Regions from separate parts of the Homo sapiens genome. Here regions 1, 2, 3, 4, 5 and 6 are each linked to region 7. Evidence: promoter capture Hi-C in 16 types of primary human blood cells and fetal thymus (Javierre and others, 2016). All regions are on one chromosome and are shown on one strand. Each heading gives the region's core, a stretch centred on a gene start or on the middle of the fragment in contact. The rest is flanking DNA. Distances are from core to core; before and after follow the strand shown. Region 1 overlaps AGTPBP1 (ATP/GTP binding carboxypeptidase 1). Region 2 overlaps TUT7 (terminal uridylyl transferase 7). Region 3 overlaps AGTPBP1 (ATP/GTP binding carboxypeptidase 1). Region 4 overlaps TUT7 (terminal uridylyl transferase 7). Region 5 overlaps ISCA1 (iron-sulfur cluster assembly 1). Region 6 has its middle 8.6 kb from the start of TUT7. Region 7 holds the start of NAA35 (N-alpha-acetyltransferase 35, NatC auxiliary subunit).

Region 1 (3,270 bases), core at 125-2,624, 380 kb after region 7:
GAATTTATCCTTAAAAAAAAAAAAGATTTTTTTTTTTTTTACTGTCATCTTAGTAGTATTTGAGAAGGGATCAGAAATAAATGCTTTTGTTAGATCCTCTGTGTTTACCAGAAGTTATAGAACTTTCTTTTCAATAATGCTCACTGTCGACTATTCATTATGTTATATATTCCCAGGGCATTTATTGGTAATTGCCAAACAAAAGTCATTTTAATTTTACCCATTTGTGTTGTATAATAAAAATTCCATCTGATGCAACACTACATTTTTCCTGGGGTAGGTGTTTCTCTTTCAGGTCAAAGCTGGAAATACTGGTAGGACTCATAAAAGCAAATAGCTATGTAGTATTTTTGTGCTTAGCAAAAGTCATTTTTATTTTATCTATTATCTGAACTATTAAACAGTTTCAGTGACCTTCATTTAAATGATTTGAGAATGAGACTGATGAAACATTTAATAGTTATTTATTAGGATATTGTAGTGGTGACTAAATTTCAGGATATCAGGTCTGTGGATGAAGTATTTGAAGCTTGAGCATGTTTAAAATACTATAGGATGGCCAGGTGCAGTGGCTCACGCCTGTAATCCCAGCACTTTGGGAGGCCAAGGCAGGCAGATGTCTTGAGTCTAGGAGTTTGAGACCAGCCTGGGCAACGTGGTGAAACCCTGTCTCTACAAAAAATACAAAAATTAGCCTGGCCTGGTGACAGGTGCCTGTAGTCCCAGCTACTCGGGAGGCTGAGGTGAGAGGATTGCTTGAGCCCAGGAAGTGGAGGTTGCAGTGAGCCGAGATCATGTCGTTGTATTGTACTCCAGCCTGGGTAACAGAATGAGACCTTGGCTCAAAAAAAATTATAGGTAAGTGAAGTTGAAAGATAGCAATATCTACACAATGTTTTATCATAATTAAAAATATACCCATGTTTAAATGAAGCCTAATTACTGACATATAATCAAAAATACTATTTGGATCTAGTTTTTAATTGAGATGAAATTCACAGAGCATAAAATTAACCATTTTAAAGCAAACAATTCAGTGGCATTTAGTATGTTGACAATGGTGTGCAGCCATCAATCACCCTGTCTTGTTCCAAAACCTTTTTATCACCCCCAAAGGAGACCCTCATACCAATTAAGCAGTCACTCCTGGCCCCTGGCAACCACTGATCTCCTTTCTGTCTGTATGGATTCACCTATTCTGGATATTTCATAGAAATGGAATCATACAATATGTGACCTTCATGTGTCTGATTTCATTCACTTAGCATGCTTTTGAGGTTCATCCATATTGTAGCATGTGTCACTACTTAATTCCTTTTCATACCTACAGCATGGACATTAGAAAATTTGATGAGAAATTGTTCCTGATGCAACTAATAAATATAACTTAAGCCAAAGAAAGCCTTTAAAATACTTAGCATTAGTTATATTTTGTTTTAACATTTTTAAAAAACCTAATTTGGTATGTTTTGATATTTTTCGAATAAGGTATAGGGAACACTATGAGTCTGTGGACCAGTTACCATCATATTATTTTTCAGCTAAAGTCTGTAGTCCTGTCCCCAGCATTATGAGAGAGACTGAGTGGTAGATATTGGTAAAATAGTACAAAGATAATAGTTGCTATAGACCGTTAGCAAACACTAGAATGAAATGTTAACCTCTGTTATCTGTATTTTCCTTATGTGAAGCTAGTATTTGTTTGTTTATACATATATAGGAACTCTGTCTTCTGAGAAAATTAAATTAATATAGGTAATTCTTGGCTAAATGTTAACAGTAGTGTCTAATACTTAGCTATGTGGTAAAGTTTACTGGTATTAATGTGCCTTATTTTTAATGTATAATTTACCATTTAATTAAGCAAATTAAGAAAAAAGATTTTCCTTTCTAATAGCTGTGGTACACATAACTTGAGTCTGGTTTGCATTTCTGGGAATCATTTATTGCTACTACATAGAAAATTCTTAGCGCTGTAATTACTACTGAGATTTTTCTGGGCAGATAAGTCATGTAATTGGAGATCATATCATACCTTCTTGTACTTTGGAAATCGTAGTTGCTTATAACTAAAAGTGCTCCATTTGTATTTGTGCTGAGTAGATGAAATGCTGTTGTACCCACAAATAGAGAGATTGAAATCATCCAGATAAATAAGTTTGGGACTGATGTGAGCACCTCGGGATCCCAGACCAGATTTGATTATAATGAAAGCTTTGAGCCTTGTCATAAGTAAATGATCCTTATAATTGAGATGTAGATAGGTATCAAATTAGTGATTATTAGTCTGGAAGACTTAGCTATGTAAGGAATTTGATGATTGTATATGTTTATGGCTATTTATATTTTTGGTAGCCTCTTGGGAGAAAAAGTTATTTCTCTCACAATAAGTGTCTGAGACTTCAAAATAAGAATATATCAGCATAAGGAAGAATACATATTTAGTGTTATATTCATATTAGAGAAGAATGTATATTCTTTAATTGCTGGTTGTAGGATTCCATATATTCCTGATAAGATCAAGTTTTTAAATCTGTGGTTCAGATTTTTCACATTGTAATGGTTTTTGGATCTGTTTGTTCTATTAGGTATTAAGAGAGATGTTTTCAGGTTTCCCCTATCACTGCGAATGTGTCCACTTTTCCTTTTAAGTTCTGTCAATTTTTGCTTTATGTATTATTATAGTAGATGTGTAGAACTTTTGCTTCATTACGTCATTCTGGTGGATTGATCTCTTTATCATAAAATGTCTCTTCTTTGGTAATGCTTCTTGCTTTAAAGCCAGCTTTGTTTTACATTGGTGTAGTTGCCCTAGCTTTCGTTGGTTAGTTTTTGCATAATATCTTTTCCATCCTTCTAGTCCCAGTTTTCTCTTTATATTTAAGATAGGAATCTTGTATGTACCAGGTAATTGTATTTTATAATCCAGTTAGTCATCTTTGTCTTTTAATTGGAGTATTTACTCCATTTCCATTTAATGAATTACTAATACAACTGAGCTTGTAAGTTACTGTATTTGTTTTCTATTGGTTTCACTTGTTTTATGTTTTTTTCTCACCTTCTTTGAGATTAATTCAAAAAGTTTTATTGTTATTCCAATTTTGTCTCTCTATAAGCTTGTTCCATTCTCTTTTGCTGTTCTTTTACTGGTACTCTAGAGATGATAACATGGATATTTGGTTTATTAGAGTATAATAAAAATTACTCTTCTTGCCTCTTCACAGACAATGCTAGGATCTTCAGATGTGTTCTACTCACCTTTTCACCTTT
Region 2 (3,597 bases), core at 92-2,591, 360 kb before region 7:
ACTTTACTTATTGGATGAATGGTGGCATTTTCTATTTGATTACCTTATTTGCTCTTAAATTTTTTTGCTTAGATCCCTTTGATTTGAATCATAATCTTGGAGCTGGATTATCAAGGAAAAGTGAGTTACTTCGTTTGTCAATTTTATTTTTTATTTTACTTATGTATTTACTTTTATAATAGAGACAGGGTCTTGCTTTTATTGCCCAGGCTGGTCTCAAACTCCTGGGCTCAAGTGATCCACCTACCCCAGCCTCCCAGAGTGCTAGAATAACAGGCGCCACCAGGCCCAGGTAGTTTGTCATTTGTAATACAATCTCTTTTCCTTTTAACCCGCCTAAGTGAGTTCTTACTCTTCTTTTTAGTGACAAATTTTATAATGAAGGCTTTTATCAATGGTAGAAGAGTATTTGGTATTCCTGTCAAGGGATTTCCAAAGGACTACCCCTCAAAAATGGTAAGTGTGTTGGAAATACCAAAAAATAAAAAATAAAAAAAAGTGCCTAATTTGTACACATCACTTCAGTAGTAACTTAAATATTTAGAAAGTCTGTGAGTCTAGCCAAAGTAAATGACTATTGTACAGAATGATTCCCAGAGCCCCCCTTTTTCTTAAACATCCCCGGGTAGAGGCCATCAGAATAGAGAGAAATAGTAAGAAGTTGGATTTAAGGTTGTTAAATTCTTGTTTTCCTCTTTGATGCCTTTTTTTTTTCTGGTTATCTGTGCTAGCCTTCATAGGTGCATTGCTGTTCTGCCAGCATTCGGCTTGATGCCAGCCTTGGCCAAGCCCAGTTTGTACATATCTAGAATCTAGATTTTCCAATCTGCTTGCAAAAAGTAGTAAATCTTTTGCTGGGACTAGGGGGTTAACAGTGCTTCCTGTAGCAGACAGCTATCTCTTCTCATGTAACTTGATACTCGAGTTTTTCAGGAACCACATTTATTGAAAACAAAGCAAAATTATGTCAAAAAAATAATTTCAGTGAGAGAAAAATGGCTAGGGACTAGATGATCTTGCTAAGAATAATATTATGTTCTTCTGCATTAATTTCCTTATACTTTTTATTCTTATTTTTAATTGACATACAGTTTATGGAGCACAACGTGATGATTTGATACATGTATATGGAATGATGAAATCAAGTTAATTAACATATATATATCACCTCACCATTTTTTGTGGGGAGACATTTGAGATTTACTCTTAGTTATCTTGAAATATACACTATTATTGACTATAGTCACCCTGCTGCGCAATAGATCTCAAAACTTATTCCTCCTGTCTATCTGAAACTTTGTACCCTTTGACCAGCAACCCCCTATTCCCTCTGTACTCCCAGTGAAGACTTTTAAAATTTAACGTAAGTGTATTGCTTTATAGGCACATTCAGTGTTTGATTACATCTGTACATCTGATTTATGGTAGATATTGATGTGGCTTCTACACCAGTGCTTCTGAAACTTGTTCGAACAAATCACCTGAGGATTTTGTTAAAGTGCAGATTCTGATTCAGCAGGTCTAGGATCAGGCTCAAGACTGCTTTTCCAGCAAGCTCCCTGGGGATGCTCATGTTGCTGGCCTCCACCTTAATTTTAGTACAAAGAGGCTACAGGCTAGACCATTATCTTTCCTTTGTTCTGTTATTTTTCCTTCAGCAGCCACAACTAAGCAAAGTAGAAACACATAGTTTTTTTTCTTTTCTTCAATATAATCTGTATGATGCAAATCATGTTTCTCAATTCATTATGTTTTAGCCTTTTCATTTGATGAGGAGACAAAGCCTGTGTACCTGGCCTCAACTCCCTCCCACATCCTGAAAAGCTGACTCATCCGCTTCTTTAGAAGTGTGCTTAAACCTTTAGGGTTAGGGCTCACGAGTGCTCTGCATGACTAAAAGGAATAAACAAAAATGGATTTAGTTAAAACTATCCTGAGTTAGACCTTGATGGTCTTAGATTTTGTTTGGAATTAAGCAGTATAAATAATATTTATTAAAAGTAATGTTATATCAACATTGAATTGTAAGATAACTGTTTAATATCTGGTTAGTTTTGTGTTCCGATCTCACGTGAATAGTTCAGGCTTTTATATATTTATGTTCTTCTAGGAATACTTTTTTGATCCAGATGTGTTAACTGAAGGAGAGCTGGCCCCAAATGATAGATGTTGTCGAATTTGTGGAAAAATCGGACACTTCATGAAGGACTGTCCTATGAGGAGAAAGTAAGTAAATGTTCAAAGGGGTTGGTTGTGTTTTTATTTTCTTAATGTCCCAATTTTTAAATGAGGTACTATTATAACAAAGAAAATACACTTGTGTAAAATCCAGCAGTTTTCAGATACATTTAAGTTTTTTATTTTATTTTTTAATGAAATGAAGTGATTTAAAACATGACTTTAGGCCGGGTGCAGTGGTTCACGCCTGTAATCCCAGCACTTTGGGAGGCCAAGGCGAGTGGATCACCTGAGGTCAGGAGTTCAAGACCAGCCTGACCCACATGGTGAAACCTCATCTCTACTAAAAATTAGCCAAGCATGGTGGCGGGCACCTGTAGTCCCAGCTACTTGGGAGGCTGAGGCTGCAGAATCGCTTGAACCCGGGAGGCAGAGATTGCAGTGAGCCCAAATCACGCCATTGCACTCCAGCCTGGGCAAAAGAGCAAGATTCTGTCTCAGAAAAAAAAAAAAAAAGCCCAGGTGTAGTAGCTCATGCCTGTAATCCCAGCACTTTGGGAGGCCAAGGCAGGCGGATCACTTGAGGCCAGGAGTTCAAGACCAGCCTTGCCAACATGGTGAAAAGAGGAAACAAAAATTCTTCCTTTTTACAGTAGTGAGAAGTTCAGAATCATTTCAGTCAGTAAACAGTCAAATGAGTTCCTTCAGGATCTCAGTTACATCTCTAATGCACAGTAACTGTTCAGCACGTTGGGATATATATTCACAAACAGTTCACTGGATTTTAGCACTCTTTGTTTGTATTCCACTTAACCCTTAATAATTGTTGTGAGTAGGTAAGCCATGCAGTTTAGTCCCCATGCTTTCTTCTGGTGGCGTTTATTGGGGGGCAAGAGAGACATGTTTTTGCTTGCTTGCCTTGGGATACGTTGTTTTGGGTGGTAGTGGTGGTGTTTTTAACTGTACAGCAATATTTTAAAACATGGTGCTCAAATTAGGTTACCATCTGGAATTTGAGAAGCTTTGTTTTTCAGTCCTTTTTTTCATTACTCAAAAATCAGTGATTATTAGGATAAGGGAGAAATGATTTTGACATTTTAAGAGCATAAATCTTAAAACCATTGTTCCTTTGTGAATTTAAGCCTTCACATCTAAAATTTCCAGTGCCAAGTAAAGAAAGAATGCTAATGTGCCAGAAAGGCCGTTCAAGAAATCACTCCATGGATGATTTGCCTTTCATTACATCAGTGTCAAAGTAGGCATTCAGCCAAGGAGTGCCACTAATTGCAGTCATTGGTTTTACAGCACTAGAGCAACTTTGAAAATGAAGAAGAAAAACTGCACCCTTAAACCCTGAGGGAGCATCTTAACAGAGAAGATGGATTTTCATTTAGGTTCTTGCTTTTCCTTTTAATACTT
Region 3 (3,372 bases), core at 771-3,270, 330 kb after region 7:
TGACAAGGGTTTTAGGAGCTCTGAGCCAGGAACTGGGGGGTAGAGACCAATATATATAGAGAGAGATTTCTTATTATTTCATATTTGGCTGGGCATGGTGGCTTATGCCTGTAATCCCAGCACTTTGGGAGGCTGAGGTGGGTAGATCACAAGGTCAGGAGTTCGAGACCAGCCTGACCAACATGGTGAAACCCCATCTCTACTAAAAATACAAAAAATTAACCAGGCTTGGTGGCACACACCTGTAATCCCAGCTGCTCAGGAGGCTGAGGCAGGGGAATAGCTTGAACTCGGGAGGTGGAGGTTGCAGTGAGCTGAGACTGTGCTATTGCACTCCAGCCTGGGTGACATAGTGAGACTCTGTCCCCCAAAAATATATTGTTTCATATTTAATATTATACATCTATTCAACTTTCTATATCCTTGTTTATTTTTTGTCTTCTCTATCTACCTAAGACTTAAAAATACTTAATAGTCTTTCAATTATGTTGTGTTTCTGTCAAGCCTTCATTTAAAAACTTTTTTTTTCTATTTTAATACAATGTTACTTGGCACACAGAATTTTGTAAGTTTTCCATTTTCCTTTTGCATATCTCTTTAATAGTATAAAATTATCACATTTATCTCATTCAGCATCTTTTGCCTTGAATTCTGTTTTTATATTGGTTTGAATTTGCTTGATGTATGTTTGCTTTTTTTTTCATAAATAAGAGGTTGGATTTTGTTGTTTGATCATTTGTCTTTTAATAGAGGAGTTTAACCTGTTTAAAATTCTTACAATTGATGTGTTTGGGTTTTTATGCTTTCTATTTTTGTACTTCTTTATTGTTTTCTTTATTTTTTATTTAGTGTGACACTTATTTTAGCTGTGGAATCCAAAATGTAAAATGCAAAAAAAAAAAAAAAAAAAGAAAAGCCCCTAAACCACAAGATACAGATCACGAGGCATATTCTGCATTGGATTTTTCAGTCTTGCTCCATCTGCCTTAAGTTTAATAGAGATTCCTTCCAGATTCTGATGATAAGTTGTCTATTGTGAGTTTTCTTCTTATTTCCATGTATTTGTAAGTATTTAACTAGGAAGTTAGTAGAAGCTATGGGAGCTGTTTAGGTAGATGTAATATTTTATTAAACTTATCTTTAGATTTGTTAGGTCAGTACAACATAAAGCAAATCTTGGTTTGTCTTAACATTAACAGAATTAAAAGAAAGGGACCAATATTTTGGTAAACTAGAATTTAACATTGTAAGCAATTATAACTAGCAATAATTCATTTTAAGGGTGGGGGCTGATGACCAAAGAAAGTATGTGCAGTGGAAACTTCTTCATCTGGAGGTATTTATTTAATTGTCAGACATGATTGAAATGAGGAAGTAGTATCAGTTAGGAGAGTAGCTTATTGTCTGTAATTTTTTTTTTGATTGGGGCGTGCCGGTTGGGGTACTATTTAAGTGTTGGATTCTAGAAAATGTGCCCAATAGAGGTCTTGTTCTTTGGCAGTGTCCCCAAAAAGGAACAGGCTGGCAGTTGCTTCTCTTTCAAGTTGTCCTTTTCTTTGAGCTTTTTAAAAGTGATTCTATTGAATACTTAGTGGTTTTCACAAGTGAATGATCTTAAAATTAAGCAGTTTAAAAATATTTATGTTTCACACTGTATTTTCAATTGTAAAGAGAATACTGCCTTTGAAATACTGAATTTGAGAATGTGTGTCACTAAATAGTGCTGTGTCTGTTTCAATCCATCACCCCCTCTTACCCCCCCATTACTTGGAAGGGATTTGCTGAAATTACCACCAGATGGCAGTCTTGCATTTTAGTGACTTGGAGCTTCAGTACCAAGCTTCTCTTTCACTTTCTCTCCATCTTTGTTTCTCTCAGATTTCTGAGGATTTTCAACTGCCTTCTTACATAAATTGAACATGTTTGGAACCAGGCAATAAAGTACAATTTTGGAGTCTAGTCTGTAGCATTCTCACCGCTTTGCCCACGTTAGTTAATTCAAGTCTCCTCTGCCTCCCTAGAATGGATTAGTCCCCCTGACAAATGTTCCTCATACATTTTTGCCTTTTGGGGTGCTCTTTACAGTTTAATATTATTTAGGTGTGTGGCTTTCCTACATTTCCTTCTTCTCTTTGTAATTAGTGTTATACATTGAGGTACTTTGAGACTATCTAAATATCTTGTTCCTTCTCAAGCTTTTAATGTATTATCAGTATAGACTGGGTTTCCTATTTGACTCAATGAGTTATAATTTGTTGCTATCATTATTTATTTTGATATTCAAATTGTCCAGGATTTGGCCAGTGGGATACCATTAATGCTGGTGTGTGTGCCCTTTTGAGATATCCCTGTCATTCCTTATGGGTGCCCTTGCTTTTTGGCACAAGGCCCATCTTGCTTTTCTCTACCCCTGAATGAAATCTGCCATTTCTTCAAAGAGTGCCATTTTACTTTAGTAGTGAATGATGTTTAAAAACCAAGATCTGGCCGGGCGCGGTGGCTCACGTCTGTAATCCCAGCACTTTGGGAGGCCAAGGCAGGCGGATCACCAGGTCAGGAGTTTGAGACTAGCCTGGTCAACATGGTGAAACCCCGTCTCTACTAAAAATACAAAAATGAGCCTGGCACCTGCATGTAATCCCAGCTACCTGGGAGGCTGAGGCAGGAGAATCGCTTGAACCTGGGAGGTGGAGGTTGCAGTGAGCCAAGATCATGCCATTGCACTCCAGCCTGGGCAACAAGAGCGAAACTCCATCTCAAAAAAAAAAAAAAAAAGATCTGTACACTTGGTATACACATTGCTATTGGGTTATTACTGTTTACAAACTATCTCAATGAACAATTAGGGAGTATATTTAATACATACATAATATTTACACAGTAATTCACATTTGTAGTGGTTTCCATATTTGTAGGTACATATTTATGTATGTGTGTATATAATCACACAAACACACATACACTCCATGAGATTATACTTATACCTTAACTTTCGAGCAAATAACACAGGCTTTATTCTTGTTTTCTTTCCATATTTACAACTTTCTTCTCCAACAGAGATAATTTTGGGCCCCACTGTCCGTAATATATTAACTTGTTTGATCAATTCCAGTTTATGTAATAATCTCCCTGTTGTCTATTTGGACAGATGCCTTCCTCCACCCTATTGAGGGTCTGATATCCCAAATTATTCTTCCTTCCATCCTCCTGCGTGGGTTCCCTCCCTGTTTGTTTTTTTCATTTTGTTTGTAATTTCTAGTTTTAGTACACTGTGACCAGAGTTTGTAATATTTCTGTTTTGTGAAATTTGGTGTTGTTTTCCCTGTGATGTAATATATTATCAGTTTTTGTGAATGTATTGTGCTATTGAGA
Region 4 (3,641 bases), core at 1,078-3,577, 380 kb before region 7:
TTGCCATTGAAGGTATCTCAAAATGTTTATCTTATTCCCCCCCACTCTTTTTTTTAAAGGTACCAGTCTAACAGCATGCTTTTTATTTCAGTCTCTTTTCAGCTCCTACAAGTAAGGTAGGCCTGCCCTCAAAGGGAAATAAATAGTTAGAATCTTGCATGTGTTAACAGTGGGTCATTTCAAGGAATCAAACTGTTCACCCTGGGTTTTTAAAGTATAAACAACTTGAATAATGGCTGGCTGAGTCCTTGCTTTCTTTGTAGATTGCTTAACCACTTAAATGCCTAAAGTATGTTTTTCACAGTGATGTGTAAATCCCCCTTTCCTCTTTACCATTCTCACCTCTGGATTTTTTAATTCAGTCCTTTTGTGGATTGTTGAAGTTGTTTAGTTTTGCAAAGGTGAGGACAATACTTTTTCTCGTCAAAAATGTCATTCTCCATTGGATTCCTCTCCAGTAGAGAGAATGAGTAGTTATTTTTGACATATCTACAGTAGCATTTAGAACTTATTCATAAAAACACATTTTTAGTGAAGCCTCATTTAACTGAAATCACTTTATCAAAGACACACTGATGTGCCCTGTAGACATCATTAAATGGACTAGCTCTTCTCAGCTTTGCAAAGTCAGGAGGTTGAAACCCCTCTAGAAATCTTAATTCTCCTCCTTTAAATAATTTAAAGAACCTCCTAAATGGAATTCTCTTATTTTTGCTTGATTTTTTTTTCAAGCTTTATGTTGCATAAGAGGGTTTTTTGCATTTTGCATAAATTCTGTGTGCAGTCATGGGGATCTCACATTTTTAAACCCTCCCCTGCAGTTTCTGTGGCTCAGCTCTTCTGGCCAATTGCCTAACCTGCTGGAGTTCTAGGGGAGGAGAAAAGATTGAGAGAAGTGGTGTCTCCTCCTGGTGCCTCCCTCTCGCCCCTGAAATTCAGTCCAGCCAATTCAGTGATGGGGCTTCCCAGGGCAGAAGAGTGGAGGTAAGCTCGATAAACCACAGGGCCTGGCTGAGTGGGGAGGCAGAGCACTCAGCAGCAGCAGAGCCTGGTGGGAAGATCTTCCTTCCCAAGGGCCTGAGAGCCACGCTGATAACATCTTTTCTACCTCCACAGTCACAGAGCACAATAGGGAGAAGGGGTACTGGTTCTGAACAGAATGGGTTCCCTTCATAGAGCCGATGTTTCAGAAAATACTGCTTTTTGTTCTTAAACTCTGTTTTCTTACTCCCCACCCCCAGTTTTTTTTTAAGTCTATAAAATGCAAGATAAATTTTACCATTGTTTGTTGTCTGTTTTTATCTGCAGCAGGCTAATTTTTAAAACATGAAATATAGTAACATATGAAGAGATGGATTTTTCTTTCTTTCTTTTTTTTATTACAGATCCCTACTCTGTTAAAAGAAATGTGGCAAGAACCCTAAATAGTCAACCTGTGTTTGAATATATACTTCATTGTTTAAGGACAACATACAAGTATTTTGCTCTTCCACACAAAATTACAAAATCCAGCCTTCTAAAGCCTCTGAATGCAATTACATGTATTTCAGAACATTCTAAAGAAGTAATAAATCATCATCCAGATGTACAAACAAAAGATGATAAGCTCAAAAACTCAGTTTTGGCCCAAGGTCCTGGTGCTACCAGTTCAGCTGCAAATACCTGTAAGGTACAGCCACTTACTCTTAAAGAGACTGCTGAAAGTTTTGGAAGCCCACCAAAAGAAGAAATGGGAAATGAACACATCAGTGTCCACCCTGAAAACTCAGACTGTATCCAAGCAGATGTTAACTCTGATGATTACAAGGGTGATAAAGTATACCATCCAGAAACAGGAAGGAAAAACGAGAAAGAGAAAGTTGGAAGGAAGGGCAAGCATCTGTTGACTGTTGATCAGAAACGTGGAGAGCATGTTGTCTGTGGCAGCACACGTAATAATGAGTCAGAGAGCACTTTGGATTTAGAAGGCTTCCAAAATCCCACAGCTAAAGAGTGTGAGGGACTTGCCACTTTAGATAACAAGGCTGATCTTGATGGAGAAAGTACAGAAGGTACTGAGGAACTAGAAGACTCTCTAAACCACTTTACCCACTCAGTACAGGGCCAGACATCAGAAATGATTCCCTCTGATGAAGAGGAGGAGGACGACGAAGAAGAGGAGGAGGAAGAAGAACCTAGGCTCACCATTAACCAAAGGGAAGATGAAGATGGCATGGCTAATGAAGATGAGTTAGACAACACCTACACTGGGTCAGGGGATGAGGACGCCCTATCTGAAGAGGATGATGAGTTAGGCGAAGCTGCTAAGTATGAAGACGTGAAAGAATGTGGAAAACATGTAGAAAGAGCTCTCCTAGTGGAACTTAATAAAATAAGTCTCAAGGAAGAAAATGTATGTGAAGAAAAAAATTCACCTGTGGATCAGTCTGATTTTTTTTATGAATTCAGTAAACTTATCTTCACCAAAGGCAAGGTAATCAGTACCACCACTAGTCATAGAACTAGGAGACTTTAAGGACTTTGAATGCATTTAATTTCAATTTTTATATACTAGGAATTTTCCTATTTTGGTAGTGTTGAACAAGTTGGCCTTTCATTCTGATATGACTGCTCGGTCTGCTTTTCTCCTTAAGACTCATGGGAATTAGCAGAGGAAGGGAATGCTATTAGTAGTGAAAATAGCCACTATGTTCTCCTAATGATACTATAGGATGTCCCCATCTCTCAGATCATTTGAGTGGATGCATGTTATATTTTCATTTCCTTTGGAAAGTGAATAGGTGACTGTGTACTTTTAAAACATGATTCCAGACTCCTTTATTTGGCAAATAAAGTGTTAAGTCTTGTTTTGCTTTGCCATATTCCTGCAGTCTCCTACGGTAGTGTGCAGCTTATGCAAACGAGAGGGTCATCTAAAGAAGGACTGTCCTGAAGACTTCAAAAGAATCCAGCTAGAACCTCTGCCACCATTAACACCCAAGTTTTTAAATATCTTAGATCAAGTCTGTATCCAGTGTTATAGTAAGTTATTCACATTTCTTTTGATTTGTCAAAATATTAAATTGACATTTACTCGAGTCTTTAGAATCACTATCCTATTTAGGTCTCTAAACATTATTAGGGACCAAGTCTATTCCATTCTCCATTGTATCCTCAAGCGTTCCATGTCATGTCTGTTCTGTTTGGGACATGCAATAAATGTCAAAGAAGGATGAGGAGAGATGCAGGGAGGATCTTTTTTATTTAAAAAAAAATTTTTTTTTAAATTTTGAGACAGGATCTCATTCTGTCACCCAGACTGGAGTGTAGCAGAGCAATCATGAGTCACTGCAGCCTCGACCTCCCAGACTAAAGCAATCCTCTCACCTCAGCCTCCCAAGTAGCTGGGAGCACAGATGCATGCCACTATGCCTGACTAAATTTTTCATTATTTGTAGAGACACAGTTTCCCTGTGTTACCCAAGCTAGTCTTGAACTCCTGGGCTCAGGCAAATGGAGGATCTTTTATTTTTCTTTTAATATCAAGTGCCTTCTGTACTTCCTTTTATTAACAGCATAGTTGTTGCATCAAGATACATAGCAATCATAGCAGGTTTCCTTTTTTGGAGGGTGATGGTGAGACAGGGTCTTGCTCGGTCCCC
Region 5 (3,720 bases), core at 668-3,167, 330 kb before region 7:
TTGGAAGGCCGTCAGGGGCAGTAACACTCATGGAGTTGTCATCTTCTGTGATAATGATGCCTTCTTCTGGATACCTCCTGAAGAACCTGCCTCAGGCTGTTTCACGGTTAACTTTTTTTTTTATAAGTAGAAGTACACTCTAAAATTTTAAACAATAAAAAGTATAGTAAATACATAAAGCAGTAACATAACCATTTATTATCATTATCAAGTATTATGTAGTGTACATAATTGAACATGCTTAGACTTTTATATGACTGGCAGTATAGGTTTGTTTACACCAGCATCACCACAAACACCTGAGTAATGGGTTGTCTTGTGATATTATGGTGGCTACAGCATTGCTAGGCAATGGGAATTTTCAGCTCCATTATAATCCTTTTTTTTTTTTTTTTTTTAATTTGAGATGGTCTCGCTCTCTCACCCAGGCTGGAGTGCAGTGGTGTGATCTCGGCTTGCTGCAACCTCCACCTCCCTGGTTCAAGCGATCCTCCCACCTCAGCCTCCCAAGTAGCTGGGATTATAGGCGCCCACCACCATGCCTGGTTCATTTTTGTATTTTTAGTGGAGCTGTATTATCAACTCATGTTTTTGAGGAATCCTGTATTTCCAATTTTTATTCAAAGCTATTTATTATAATTTAATTTATAATTAAAATTAATTATATTTGCTGCTGCCCCCTTCTTCCACCCTATAATCTGTTAAAACCTATCTAAAATAAATAATTTATCTTGTCATTGGAAGTATGCACTTAGCTTGCAGTTCTTACCTACATGGGAGAATGAGGCCTAGATTCCTAAGTGTGCTTTCTTATTAAACTAAAGTTATAACTATCAATAAAGACCTTTTAAAAATGTATTATTTTAAAAATTATAACACATTATAAACCTTAAGATTTTCATCTTAAAGAAGAGGTGACTTAATTATATATTGTTTATATTTAGCTAATGGCTCAATTTCTTGTAAGGAAGAAAGTTTTTTTGTTGTTTCGTTGTTTTGTTTGTTTGTTGAGACAGAGTCTTGCTCTCTTACCCAGGCTGGAGTGCAGTGGCACAATCATGGTTCACTGTAGCCTCTGTCTCCCGGGCTCAAGCAGTCCTCCCACCTCAGCCTCCCGAGTAGCTGGGACTACAGGTGCCCACCACTGTGCCCGGCTAATTTTTGTATTTTTAGTGGAGCCAGGGTTTTGCCCTGTTTCCCAGACTAGAAAGCTTTCTTAAATTGATTGTATTTGTTGGCTGGGCACTGTGGCTCACACCTGTAATCCCAGCACTTTGGGAGGCCGAGGTGGGAGGATCACTTGAGCCCAGGAATGCAAGACCAGCTTGGGCCACGTGGTGAAACCCTGACTCTAAAAAAATTAGTTGGTCCTGGTGGTATGTGCCTGTAATCCTGTGGGAGGATCGCTTGAGCCTGGGAGGTGGAGCTTGTGGTGAGCCATGATCATACCACTGCACTCCAGCCGGGGTGACAGAGTGAGACTCTGTCCAAAAAAAAAAAGATTGTATTTACAAAGATGCTGACCTCTACCTGTGTAATTACTAGGGAATAGTACCTGTTTTCCGTCCTGTAACCAGAAAAGACTATTGTTGTACTGATTGATGTTATTAAAATAGCCCCATTGTATCACAGTCCTTTGTACATCTTTAAGCTTGAATCCGTGTATCTAGTGTATTGCAGAATTTTCATAAATTTTTTTTTATTTCATAAAACTCATCGAGAATATACATTTTCTTCATGTTGCAAACTGGAAAAATGAGTGAAGTATAGTGAAAGGTAAATTCTAATTTTGCATAAAATTGTCATGGAATTTACTTGTATAAAATTCTCCCCTAATGTGATTGTGACATAAATTCATGTGTGGGAAAGAAGGGGCAGACAGGAAACTGAATGCTTAATTCCTTAAGGAAATAATTTAAAATGTTCAAGGCTTCTTGTTTGACTTTCATTGATAGTCACTATTTCAAGTTCACTTGTGCTTTGAATCAGCAAGTTCCATAAGGCTGCAGGCTTTCCATGACACATGTTTTCTTTTCTCCAAGGAGTCAGAGTATTCATCGAAAAGAAAGCACAGCTAACACTTTTAGGAACAGAAATGGACTATGTTGAAGACAAATTATCCAGTGAGTTTGTGTTCAATAACCCAAACATCAAAGGGACTTGTGGCTGTGGAGAAAGCTTTAATATTTGAAATCTCAGGACTCTTCTGGCCGTAGGTTCCAGGAAAGCTCGTGGAAGCTTTGGGGCTCACTGCAGAAATCATGTGACTGTCACGTGCTGGAAAATAAAGTGATACATCTTGAAAATGAATCCAGTGTGTTGGATTCCAGAAGAAATGATATTTATATTCTCTATAGGGGACAGAAAATGAGAAGCCATCACTCTTTTTGGATCATTTAGGTCTCTTGTATCCTTTGTTTTAGAACCAGTTTCATTAAAGTTGCCTTCCTGGGCACCTGTTTATCCATTTCCTGAACTGTGTGCACTCCTTAGATCGCTATTGATGGCTTGATCATCCCTCAGCATTTCTCCCAACCAGATCGGTGACTCCTAAAATCTGAGACAGGACATCGTGACTGCTGGTAGTAATATGGTGGTGCATTGTTTTTTCCACCCAAACTTAACATAGCCTTTTTATACATTTTTATGAAAAATTTCATTGTCAGCTGCCTCACTGCATACTCTTTAATAGTACCAGGCAAAGATTTTCTTCAACTATAGTACAGATTAGTTCTGAGTGATGGTATCAAAAGGTGAGAAAGACGTCATCCGCCTTTTTTTAATCCATTTCTTTTGCCACCCTATATGTCTGTTCAGAGATGGGCTCTCAAGCTGACTTTGATTCTTTTAGTTGAGAAGTCTCTTAAAGCCATCTAGCCCACCTCCATCAATTCCCTATGTGAGGAAGCAAAACCCCAGGGAAGCCAAAGGGCTCCTGTCCACCCTGACACCACAGGCCGGGGGAGAGTAGGGACTCTACCCCCCTCTCCCCTTGTAGGTGACACATGCTCTGCCCTCTGAGGCAGTCAGCGAAGGCAAATGGTCTGACTTCTTTATGTGGTCAACATTTTGATAGAATTTCTTTATAATTTGATAGAGATTATATTATTTTTATTTTATTTTGAGTGGGAAGAATTTTAAAACCTTTTTATGTCAATTACCATCTTGTTTCTTTCACCTTTGAAACAATGGTTTGTAGCAGAGATGACATTGTAGCAACCCAGAATTATGCTTTTGGAATGTGGTCCTCACTGTACAGGAGAATGTGTAATCTTTTGTTAAAATTCCCAGTGTGCATACATTTTCTGGTTCCTCGGTCCAGTTGCTAAAGTTCTTAGTATTTTAGCCTAACATATTTATCACCAACTTTTCTTTAAAAGTGTTCCTTTTGTCACTTAGTTACTGATTTTCCTGGGTTTGACATAAGTATTCTATGAGATGATATATATGCTTTTTTTGAAAGCTGATTCTCATGAATTCAAGTAGCTGAGTTCCTTTATGTTTCGTTTATTCACTAAAGTAGCTGACACAAAACACACCAAAACCTAGAGCGGTAGTTTTATGTAAATGCTCATGAGTTTGTATCAATAATATAATTGTTGATCCACTTATAATTCGTGCAACACTGTATGTATGTAGAGATTGAGTTGTCAATTAAAAAAAATGTGGCCTCTTTGTGATCATAAAATTGCCTTTTATTATTGAGGGGAGAGGGTTTGG
Region 6 (3,742 bases), core at 543-3,042, 420 kb before region 7:
CTGCCCCTGTTTTAGCCTTACCCTCCCTAGAAAAGCCATTCCACCTTTTTGTTAATGTGGACAGTGGGGTAGCTTTAGGAGTGCTGACTCAAGAACAGGGAGGCCACCGGCAGCCCGTAGCCTTCCTATCAAAGGTCTTAGACCCAGTCACTTGTGGATGGCCTCAATGCATTCAGTCCATCGCAACTATGGCAATACTAGTGGAGGAAAGCATTTTGGAGGAAAATTGACAGTAAGCAAGCCTCACCAAGTTAGAACTATCTTAAACCAAAGAGCAGGGAGATGGCTTACTGACTCGAGAATCTTTAAGTATGAGGCCATTCTGTTAGAAAAGGATAATTTAACATTGACCACTGAAAATTCACTCAACCCAGCAAGTTTCCTGACAAAGAATCCAAATCTAAGGAATGAACATACATGTTTAGATTTAATTGATTACCATACAAAGGTTCGACCAGACCCAGGAGAAACCCCCTTCCGGACTGGACGGCACTCGTTCATAGATGGTTCCTCCCTGGTGATTGAGGGAAAAAGACACAATGGTGTTCAGTGATTGATGGAGAAACTCTCTTAGAAATAGAGTTAAGAAAATTGCCCAACAGTTGGTCTGCTCAAACGTGTGAGCTGTTTGCACTCAGCCAAGCCTTAAAGTACTTACAGAACAAGGAAGGAACCATCTATACCAATTCTAAGTTAATTTGGACTAAACAAGGTCTTATTAACAGCAAAGGATAATTGAAATCCCAAACTCACAAGGTTTTCAACAAAAGCAAAACTTGCTAAAAGTTAACAGTGTAACATGTATTATCCTAACTTCTAATCTTGTGGCCTTAGGCAATCTAATCCACAGACCCGAAGGAAGTTCGCTTTGGAAAAGAATGGTTATCATCTTTGGGGAAAAAAAAAGGATGGGGGAGGAGAATTTATGTAAAAAGAATGTTATATGGTAAATTCTTGTCCTAAAATAAATTGTTTGTTTAAAGAAAGGGACATTTGCAACAAGTCAGAAAGTTGAGGCATGTCAAAGAATTGTCTGGCATTTCATCAACCAGAGGAAGGAAAAATAAGATATTGTAAAGCGTGAAAAAAAATGTGTTATAAAAGGGAATTTATGCAAGAAATGTTGTATAATGTAACAGTAATTAGGCGTCCTGAATGTAAAACTATTGACGAAACAGTTTATGTGCAAGGTGTATAAGGAAAGTAAAATATACTTTTAGTAAAAGAATTATAAAGAGGCATAAGAATGTGGATTTTTACCTACATTAAAAGGTGAAAAAAAAACTTTGTTTTGAAGGTTTAAGCAAGTTTGAAAACATTAATTATAAAGGAAATTCTGTGTGTAAACACACTGGCTAAAGTTAAAAAGGTATCATCCAGTTTTTCTGTGAACTGGACATTAAAATAAAAGCACAATGGATTTTTCTTAAAGCACTAACCTGCTCTTTAACAAAAATTATAAAAGGTTAAAAAGAGTCTATGAAAATCTTATCTTATGGTTAGATGTTAAAATTGGATAAATATGTCTACACGGTTTTATTAAAATTGATTTTAACATTAATAGCACACTAATATAAAGGTGAAATTTAGCTTATCTGGTATAAAAGTCATACAGGAAGCATTGTCAAATATAAAATGGTGTTTGGCTTTCTTTGGTCTAAAAACTAATAAAAATAGGTGCTAAAGGAAATTTCTTAATAAGAAGGCACCAAGGACTATAATGTCCAATGCTGATGTCCCTGCATTTAAAACAAAAGATCAATTTCTTAGACCTTATATACTTGGTTTATCTTCCTCTTTCCTTTCCCCCAAAACTAAAAGTCTTTTAGCACAGGTACCACCCCTAGAATTTCCAGTAAACCAGCACCAGCCTGAGGATCACATTCTCATCAAAGGGTGGAAAGAAAGAAAACTCGAGCCAGCCTGGGAAGGACCCTACCTTGGGCTGCTAACCACCGGGACTGCTGTTCATACAACGAAAAGAGGATGGACTCATCACACGTGAGTCAAGAAAGGGCCACCCCCCCCGCACCCCCGCCCCCCCACCCAGAGTCGTGGGCCATGGTCCCAGGGGAAAACCCTACCAAACTAAAGCTAAGAAAAATTTAACTTTCTTTCATCTATTCAATTACTCTTGCTTCTTTCTTCGCTCTATTGCTGACCGTCTAGTTATAACATAACAAAGTCAATTTCGCCTCAAACTATTGCATTTGATGCTTGCTTTGTTATACCCTGTGGGGACTTGCCAAGTCAAAGACAGCTCTCTACTTCAAAAAAGTACCTCTGTCCTTCCTGACTCTCCTCAGACTGGGCCTCAGACTGGGCATTTAATCCGGGGAGATGTCGATAAAACTCCAGTGTCAACCAGGAGTCTTGCCCCCGATGTAGAGCTTTTATGCCGTAGTTGGTCCTACGTTCTGTGGACCACTGAAGAGCAAGGATGGACTGCCCCAACCGGTTTTTGTAATTTCCTTAAACCATACATTCATTTTACTAGAGGATCATAAAAGTTAAAGACTTAAAATAAACTTTGGCAATTAAGATACCAAAGATACCAAGGATACCAAGATGCAAATGCCTGGTGGAATAGATCAAATATTCCGTCCGCACATTAAACAAAAGCAATTGTTATGCTTGTACGCACAGCAGGCCAGAGTCCCAGACTGTCCCCTTTCCACTAGGGTGACCCTCCACTTGACCAGGCATAGGCTGCATGGCAGCTCTTTTCCAGGATTCTACAGCCTAGAGTAATAAGTTGTGCCAAGCTCCCTCTCTGCTATATCCCGAAGTCTGGCACCCTGTGGGTCAGCCCCCGAGGGCTATCCAGCTTCCGTCTCCCAACACTAAGTTCACTTCATGTCTCTCACAACAGGGAGGAAACAGCGTTCCTTGGAGACCTGAAGGGATGCAGTGAGCTTAAGAATTTTCAAGAGCTTATCAATCAGTCAGCCCTTGTTCATCCCCAAGTGGATATGTGGTGGTATTGTGGTGGACCTTTACTGGACACTCTGACAAATAACTGAAGTGGCATTTGTGCTTTAGTTCAATTGGCTATCCCTTTCACCCTGGCATTTCATCAACCAGAGGAAGGAAAAATAAGACATCATAAAGCGAGAGAAGCCCCTTATGGGTCTTTTGACTCTCACATCTATTTAGACACAATTAGAGTCCCATGGGGAATACCAGATCAATTTAAAGCCTAAAATCAAATAGCTGTAGGATTTGCATCAATATTTTGGTAGGTGACAATTAATAAAAATGTAGATTGGATAAACTACATCTACTACAACCAATAGCGATTTATTAACTACACTAGAATTAGGAGTTTGCATCATGATTAAAACTCAATGTTGCACCTTCATCCCAAACAACACTGCCCCTAATGGAAGTATAACAAAAGCATCGCAAGGTCTGACTGCTCTATCCAACAAGTTAGCCCGCAACTCAGGGGTAAATGACCCTTTTACAGGATGGCTAGAAAAGTGGTTCGGTAAATGGAAAGCAATAGTAGCCACAATTCCTACTTCCCTCACAGTCATAATAGGTGTACTTATTCTTGCTGGCTGCTGTGTCATACCATGCATCTGTAGGTTGATGCAGAGGCTCATAAAAATGGCACTCACTAAAACCTCCCTTAACTATCCTCACCTTATCCAGAGAAGCTTCTTCTTTTGCAAAATCAAGCAAAACAACTAAGCCAAGACATGTTTAAAAAGTTTGAAAAGAAAGCTGTAAGGAAATA
Region 7 (3,281 bases), core at 262-2,761:
AACAGGAAGCCACTGGACAATCTTAAACAAGGAATGATGTGATCTGATCATACTGAAACCTCAAACATACAAAAATACTATTATCTTTTAGATTAACAAAGTGTTTTCCACAGTTAGAAATTACTGCTCTCTCTAACCTGTTAAAGCAAGAAAAATTCAATTTTAAAATACTGCCTCAACATCTGTATTTAATGCTGTATCAAATATACATTTGCTTTAAAGTTAAAATTAGAGGATACAGAATAAGTGTGGCTAACAAACTCAACAAACCACATTTACCTGTTGATTTCATCTAATGAGGTAAGTTTAGAAAGCACAATCGTCATTCTACCCCTTCCAGATGCTGAACTTCTAATCCAAAAATCAGACTCACCTCGACAAGCTTCTTCAAAATCTTGGGTAATGTCCACCCAGTTTGTATTGCTTTTCTCCATTTTTTCTGGCATACTGAGCTCCCATCCTGAATCGTCATCATCTACAGAAGCTTTCATAACCATTATGCCTGTAAAATTAATACTGATGTAAGAGAGAGGATGTAGCTTTCAGGGCAAGAGTATTTGCAGAAATGGGTGTTTGTTTCAGCATAGGATGAAGTCTTAACTAAACTCTTTAAAGCAGAACTCTTCTGAGTCTAAGGACAGTACTGCAAAGAATAACCTTAATGCAATCAAATCGCACGTCAATTAACACTCCTGCTGCTTACTATTAGCCCACCACCTACCAGGGCCCATAAACATTTTGCCTTCCTACTGTTTAAGAAGAAAAATCACAAACCATCTCACCTCTGGCCCGAAAAGAACAACTCCAGAGCTTCCAACTTTCAATAATAGCCACAAAAGACCAAGGCACTATTCAGGGTCCCCTCTCGCAGCCCAGGACCCCATGCGGCAGCTACCGAAGTCAATCAAGGTAGCCCTTCATCTGGCCAGAGCTCGCTGGGACCTCTCCCGGGCCAGAGCCGGCCCGGACCCAGGCAGAACCTCGCCGGGAGCAATGAGGAGCCGGCAGGCACCGCAGGGTCCCGCCGGCCGGGCCTAGGGCCGAGGCACACCTGAGGCGGGCACACGCTTCCCTTCCGCCCTGCCCGGGTCAGCCCAGCCCAGCCCCGGTCCCACTGGGCGCATAAGCAAGGACAGAGCTGTCGCCGCGCGGGAGGGCGGGCACGTCCGGCGCCGGGTCGTCGCCTCGGCAACACCGGGCAAGAGTGGGGCCTCGGCCGACAGCGGGCACTGGGGAGCCCGCCGCTCCTACCTGACGCGCAGCGGGAGGGCCGGGGCCGCAGGGTGACCTGGGGTCCCCAGGATCTGCCACACGCGCGGGGGGCTGCGGCTCTCGGACACACGAGCGAGAGGGTTTCAATGGCTACGCAGGGGCGGTCCCTACCTACTTCTCCCGTGGTCACCCGCGCCGCCACGCACTGTCCGGACCACGGAAATAACGACGCCGCCTCGGCCGCCGCCGCCCCCTCCCCTCTCAGCCCAGCCCGACCGGCAGCGTGCACGCATGCGTATGCCCGGGACGCGCGACCCCGCCCCCTCTCCCTTACTCCCGGGGACTTCGCGCTCCCCGGCCACACCCCCTCCCTCGCCACCGCCTCCGTTCGGCCGATGGCGGCCGCCTTCTCTTCTCGCGAGATTAGAGACGATCGCGAGACCGGAAGTTATCTTTTTTCACCCTCTGTCGGAGTCCTGGGTAGTGGGCGGTTCCCGGAAAGAGGCGGAGCCCGGAGTCTCAGAGCCCGCCCCGTCTGCGCTGCCCTCTGGGAATTTCTTAGAAAGGTGACGCGAAGGCGGAAGGAAACCGTGGAGGTTTGCGTAGACCTTAGTGGTTGCGAGCACGAACGAGCAGCCAAGCTCCGAGAGCAACAGCGTGCTACTGCTGCCTGACAACGGATTTATGTTTCCTATACAGCGCCTGGGAGTTTCGTGAGGAAACATAGATTCAAAATATCTGCAAAGTCAAGCCAGACATTTAATTTCAGATTCTTATATGTTTTAGATTTTTTTAATTTATTAATAAAATGATCAGTTTTTAAATGGGGTTACATAAATAGACGGGCGCAGGTAAGAAGCACATCTTTATCACCACCTGTTCTTTAGGATGGCCCAAAATTAAAAGATGGAAAAGATAATACCAAATGTTGGCAAGGATGCAGAGCAACTGGACCTCTGTTATGTTGGTGGTGGTAATGCAAAATGGTACAACCACTTTGGAAAACTTAACAATCTCTCCTTATAATCATATACTTATCATTCGATCCAGTAATCTACGAATTTACTTAGGAACAAAAACATATTCATACAAAGGCTTGTACGTTAATGTTCATACCAGCTTTGTTTTGCTTTGTTTTTGTTTTTGTTTGAGACAGAGTGTCACTCTTGTCGCCCCTGCTAGAGTGCAGTGACCTGATCTCGGCTCATTGCAACCTCTGCCTTTCAGGTTCAAGCAATTCTCGTGCCTCAGTCTCCCGAGTAGCTGGGATTACAGGCGCCTGCCCCCACACCAGGCTGTTTTTTGTATTTTTAGTAGAGATGGGGTTTCACCATGTTGGTCAGGCTGATCTCAAACTCCTGACCTCGTGATCTGCCCACCTCAGCCTCCCAGAGTGCTGGGATTACAGGTATGAGCCACCGTGCCTGGCCCAGCTTTGTTTTTAATCATCAAAAACTACAGACAACCCAAATGTCCATCAACTGTTGAATAAAAACAATTTGTGGCATATCCATACAATGTAATGAATGTAATTATCAATAAACAGGGATAAACTACTTGACATACAACATGAATGAATTTCAAAAATATATTGAGTAAAAGAAATCAGGCTGAGCTTGGTAGCTGGTAGCTCATGCGTGTAATCCCAACACTTTGGGAGGCTGGCAGTGGAGAGGTCGGGTTGGAGACTAGCCTGACCAATATGGTGAAATCCTGTCTCTACTAAAAATACAAAAAAATTAGCCAGGCATGGTGGCGTGCGCCTGTAATCCCAGCCACTTGGGAGGCTGAGACAGGGGAATCCCTTGAACTCAGGAGGCAGAGGTTGCTGTGACCCGAGATGGTGCCATTGCACTCCAACCTGGGCGACAGAGTAAGAAATCAAATGCAAGAGTATGATTCCCCAAGTGAGACCCCAGGCTCTTAAAAGACATCTATAGTGACAGAAGACAGATTAGTGGCTGCTCAGGGCTCAAGAAGAGACTAAGTTGGATAGAGCTTGATTTGAAGTGATGTAAATATTCTGTTTTCGATTAAGGTAGTGCCTGTGTGGGTGAATACATTTGTAA

What was found. The method cuts DNA at HindIII sites, captures the fragments that hold promoters and counts their contacts. A CHiCAGO score of 5 or more calls a contact.
Region 1: a fragment that was not itself captured here is called in contact with the fragment with the promoter of NAA35 in region 7 in 1 of 17 cell types (neutrophils); the score reaches 5.6 in neutrophils.
Region 2: a contact is called between a fragment that was not itself captured here and the fragment with the promoter of NAA35 in region 7, in 10 of 17 cell types (naive CD8 T cells, naive CD4 T cells, total CD4 T cells and 7 more). The highest score is 12.8, in naive CD8 T cells.
Region 3: a fragment that was not itself captured here is called in contact with the fragment with the promoter of NAA35 in region 7 in 9 of 17 cell types (total B cells, naive CD8 T cells, activated CD4 T cells and 6 more); the score reaches 10.4 in total B cells.
Region 4: a contact is called between a fragment that was not itself captured here and the fragment with the promoter of NAA35 in region 7, in 7 of 17 cell types (total CD8 T cells, naive CD8 T cells, naive CD4 T cells and 4 more). The highest score is 7.9, in total CD8 T cells.
Region 5: a fragment that was not itself captured here is called in contact with the fragment with the promoter of NAA35 in region 7 in 11 of 17 cell types (total CD4 T cells, naive CD8 T cells, naive CD4 T cells and 8 more); the score reaches 8.7 in total CD4 T cells.
Region 6: a contact is called between a fragment that was not itself captured here and the fragment with the promoter of NAA35 in region 7, in 6 of 17 cell types (naive B cells, neutrophils, activated CD4 T cells and 3 more). The highest score is 7.4, in naive B cells.

Annotation. Positions count from the first base shown.
Region 1 is chr9:85,556,206-85,559,475 of GRCh38, reverse strand. All of the region lies in intron 25 of AGTPBP1 (ATP/GTP binding carboxypeptidase 1), which reads left to right. Among named protein-coding and RNA genes, the nearest start is that of AGTPBP1, 180 kb to the left of the region's middle. The HindIII fragment of the contact is 1,685 bases long and covers 532-2,216 here.
Region 2 is chr9:86,301,715-86,305,311 of GRCh38, reverse strand. TUT7 (terminal uridylyl transferase 7) reads left to right here. Exons shown (of 27, transcript NM_024617.4): 23 at 73-120; 24 at 365-456; 25 at 2,111-2,226. Among named protein-coding and RNA genes, the nearest start is that of ISCA1, 21 kb to the right of the region's middle. The HindIII fragment of the contact is 3,720 bases long and covers 1-3,201 here.
Region 3 is chr9:85,608,694-85,612,065 of GRCh38, reverse strand. The region is part of intron 17 of AGTPBP1 (ATP/GTP binding carboxypeptidase 1); the gene reads left to right. Among named protein-coding and RNA genes, the nearest start is that of AGTPBP1, 130 kb to the left of the region's middle. The HindIII fragment of the contact is 355 bases long and covers 1,843-2,197 here.
Region 4 is chr9:86,321,705-86,325,345 of GRCh38, reverse strand. It overlaps TUT7 (terminal uridylyl transferase 7), which reads left to right. Exons shown (of 27, transcript NM_024617.4): 12 at 1-12; 13 at 1,386-2,473; 14 at 2,871-3,021. Among named protein-coding and RNA genes, the nearest start is that of TUT7, 31 kb to the left of the region's middle. The HindIII fragment of the contact is 3,186 bases long and covers 735-3,641 here.
Region 5 is chr9:86,264,514-86,268,233 of GRCh38, reverse strand. ISCA1 (iron-sulfur cluster assembly 1) reads left to right here. Exons shown (of 4, transcript NM_030940.4): 4 at 2,043-3,688. The coding sequence ends at 2,191. Among named protein-coding and RNA genes, the nearest start is that of C9orf153, 6.7 kb to the right of the region's middle. The HindIII fragment of the contact is 527 bases long and covers 1,654-2,180 here.
Region 6 is chr9:86,361,184-86,364,925 of GRCh38, reverse strand. No RefSeq gene overlaps it. Among named protein-coding and RNA genes, the nearest start is that of TUT7, 8.6 kb to the right of the region's middle. The HindIII fragment of the contact is 3,744 bases long and covers 1-3,664 here.
Region 7 is chr9:85,939,376-85,942,656 of GRCh38, reverse strand. It overlaps NAA35 (N-alpha-acetyltransferase 35, NatC auxiliary subunit), which reads right to left and starts at 1,511. Exons shown (of 23, transcript NM_024635.4): 1 at 1,384-1,511; 2 at 374-502. The coding sequence starts at 497. RefSeq lists a silencer at 928-1,607. The HindIII fragment of the contact is 5,629 bases long and covers 487-3,281 here.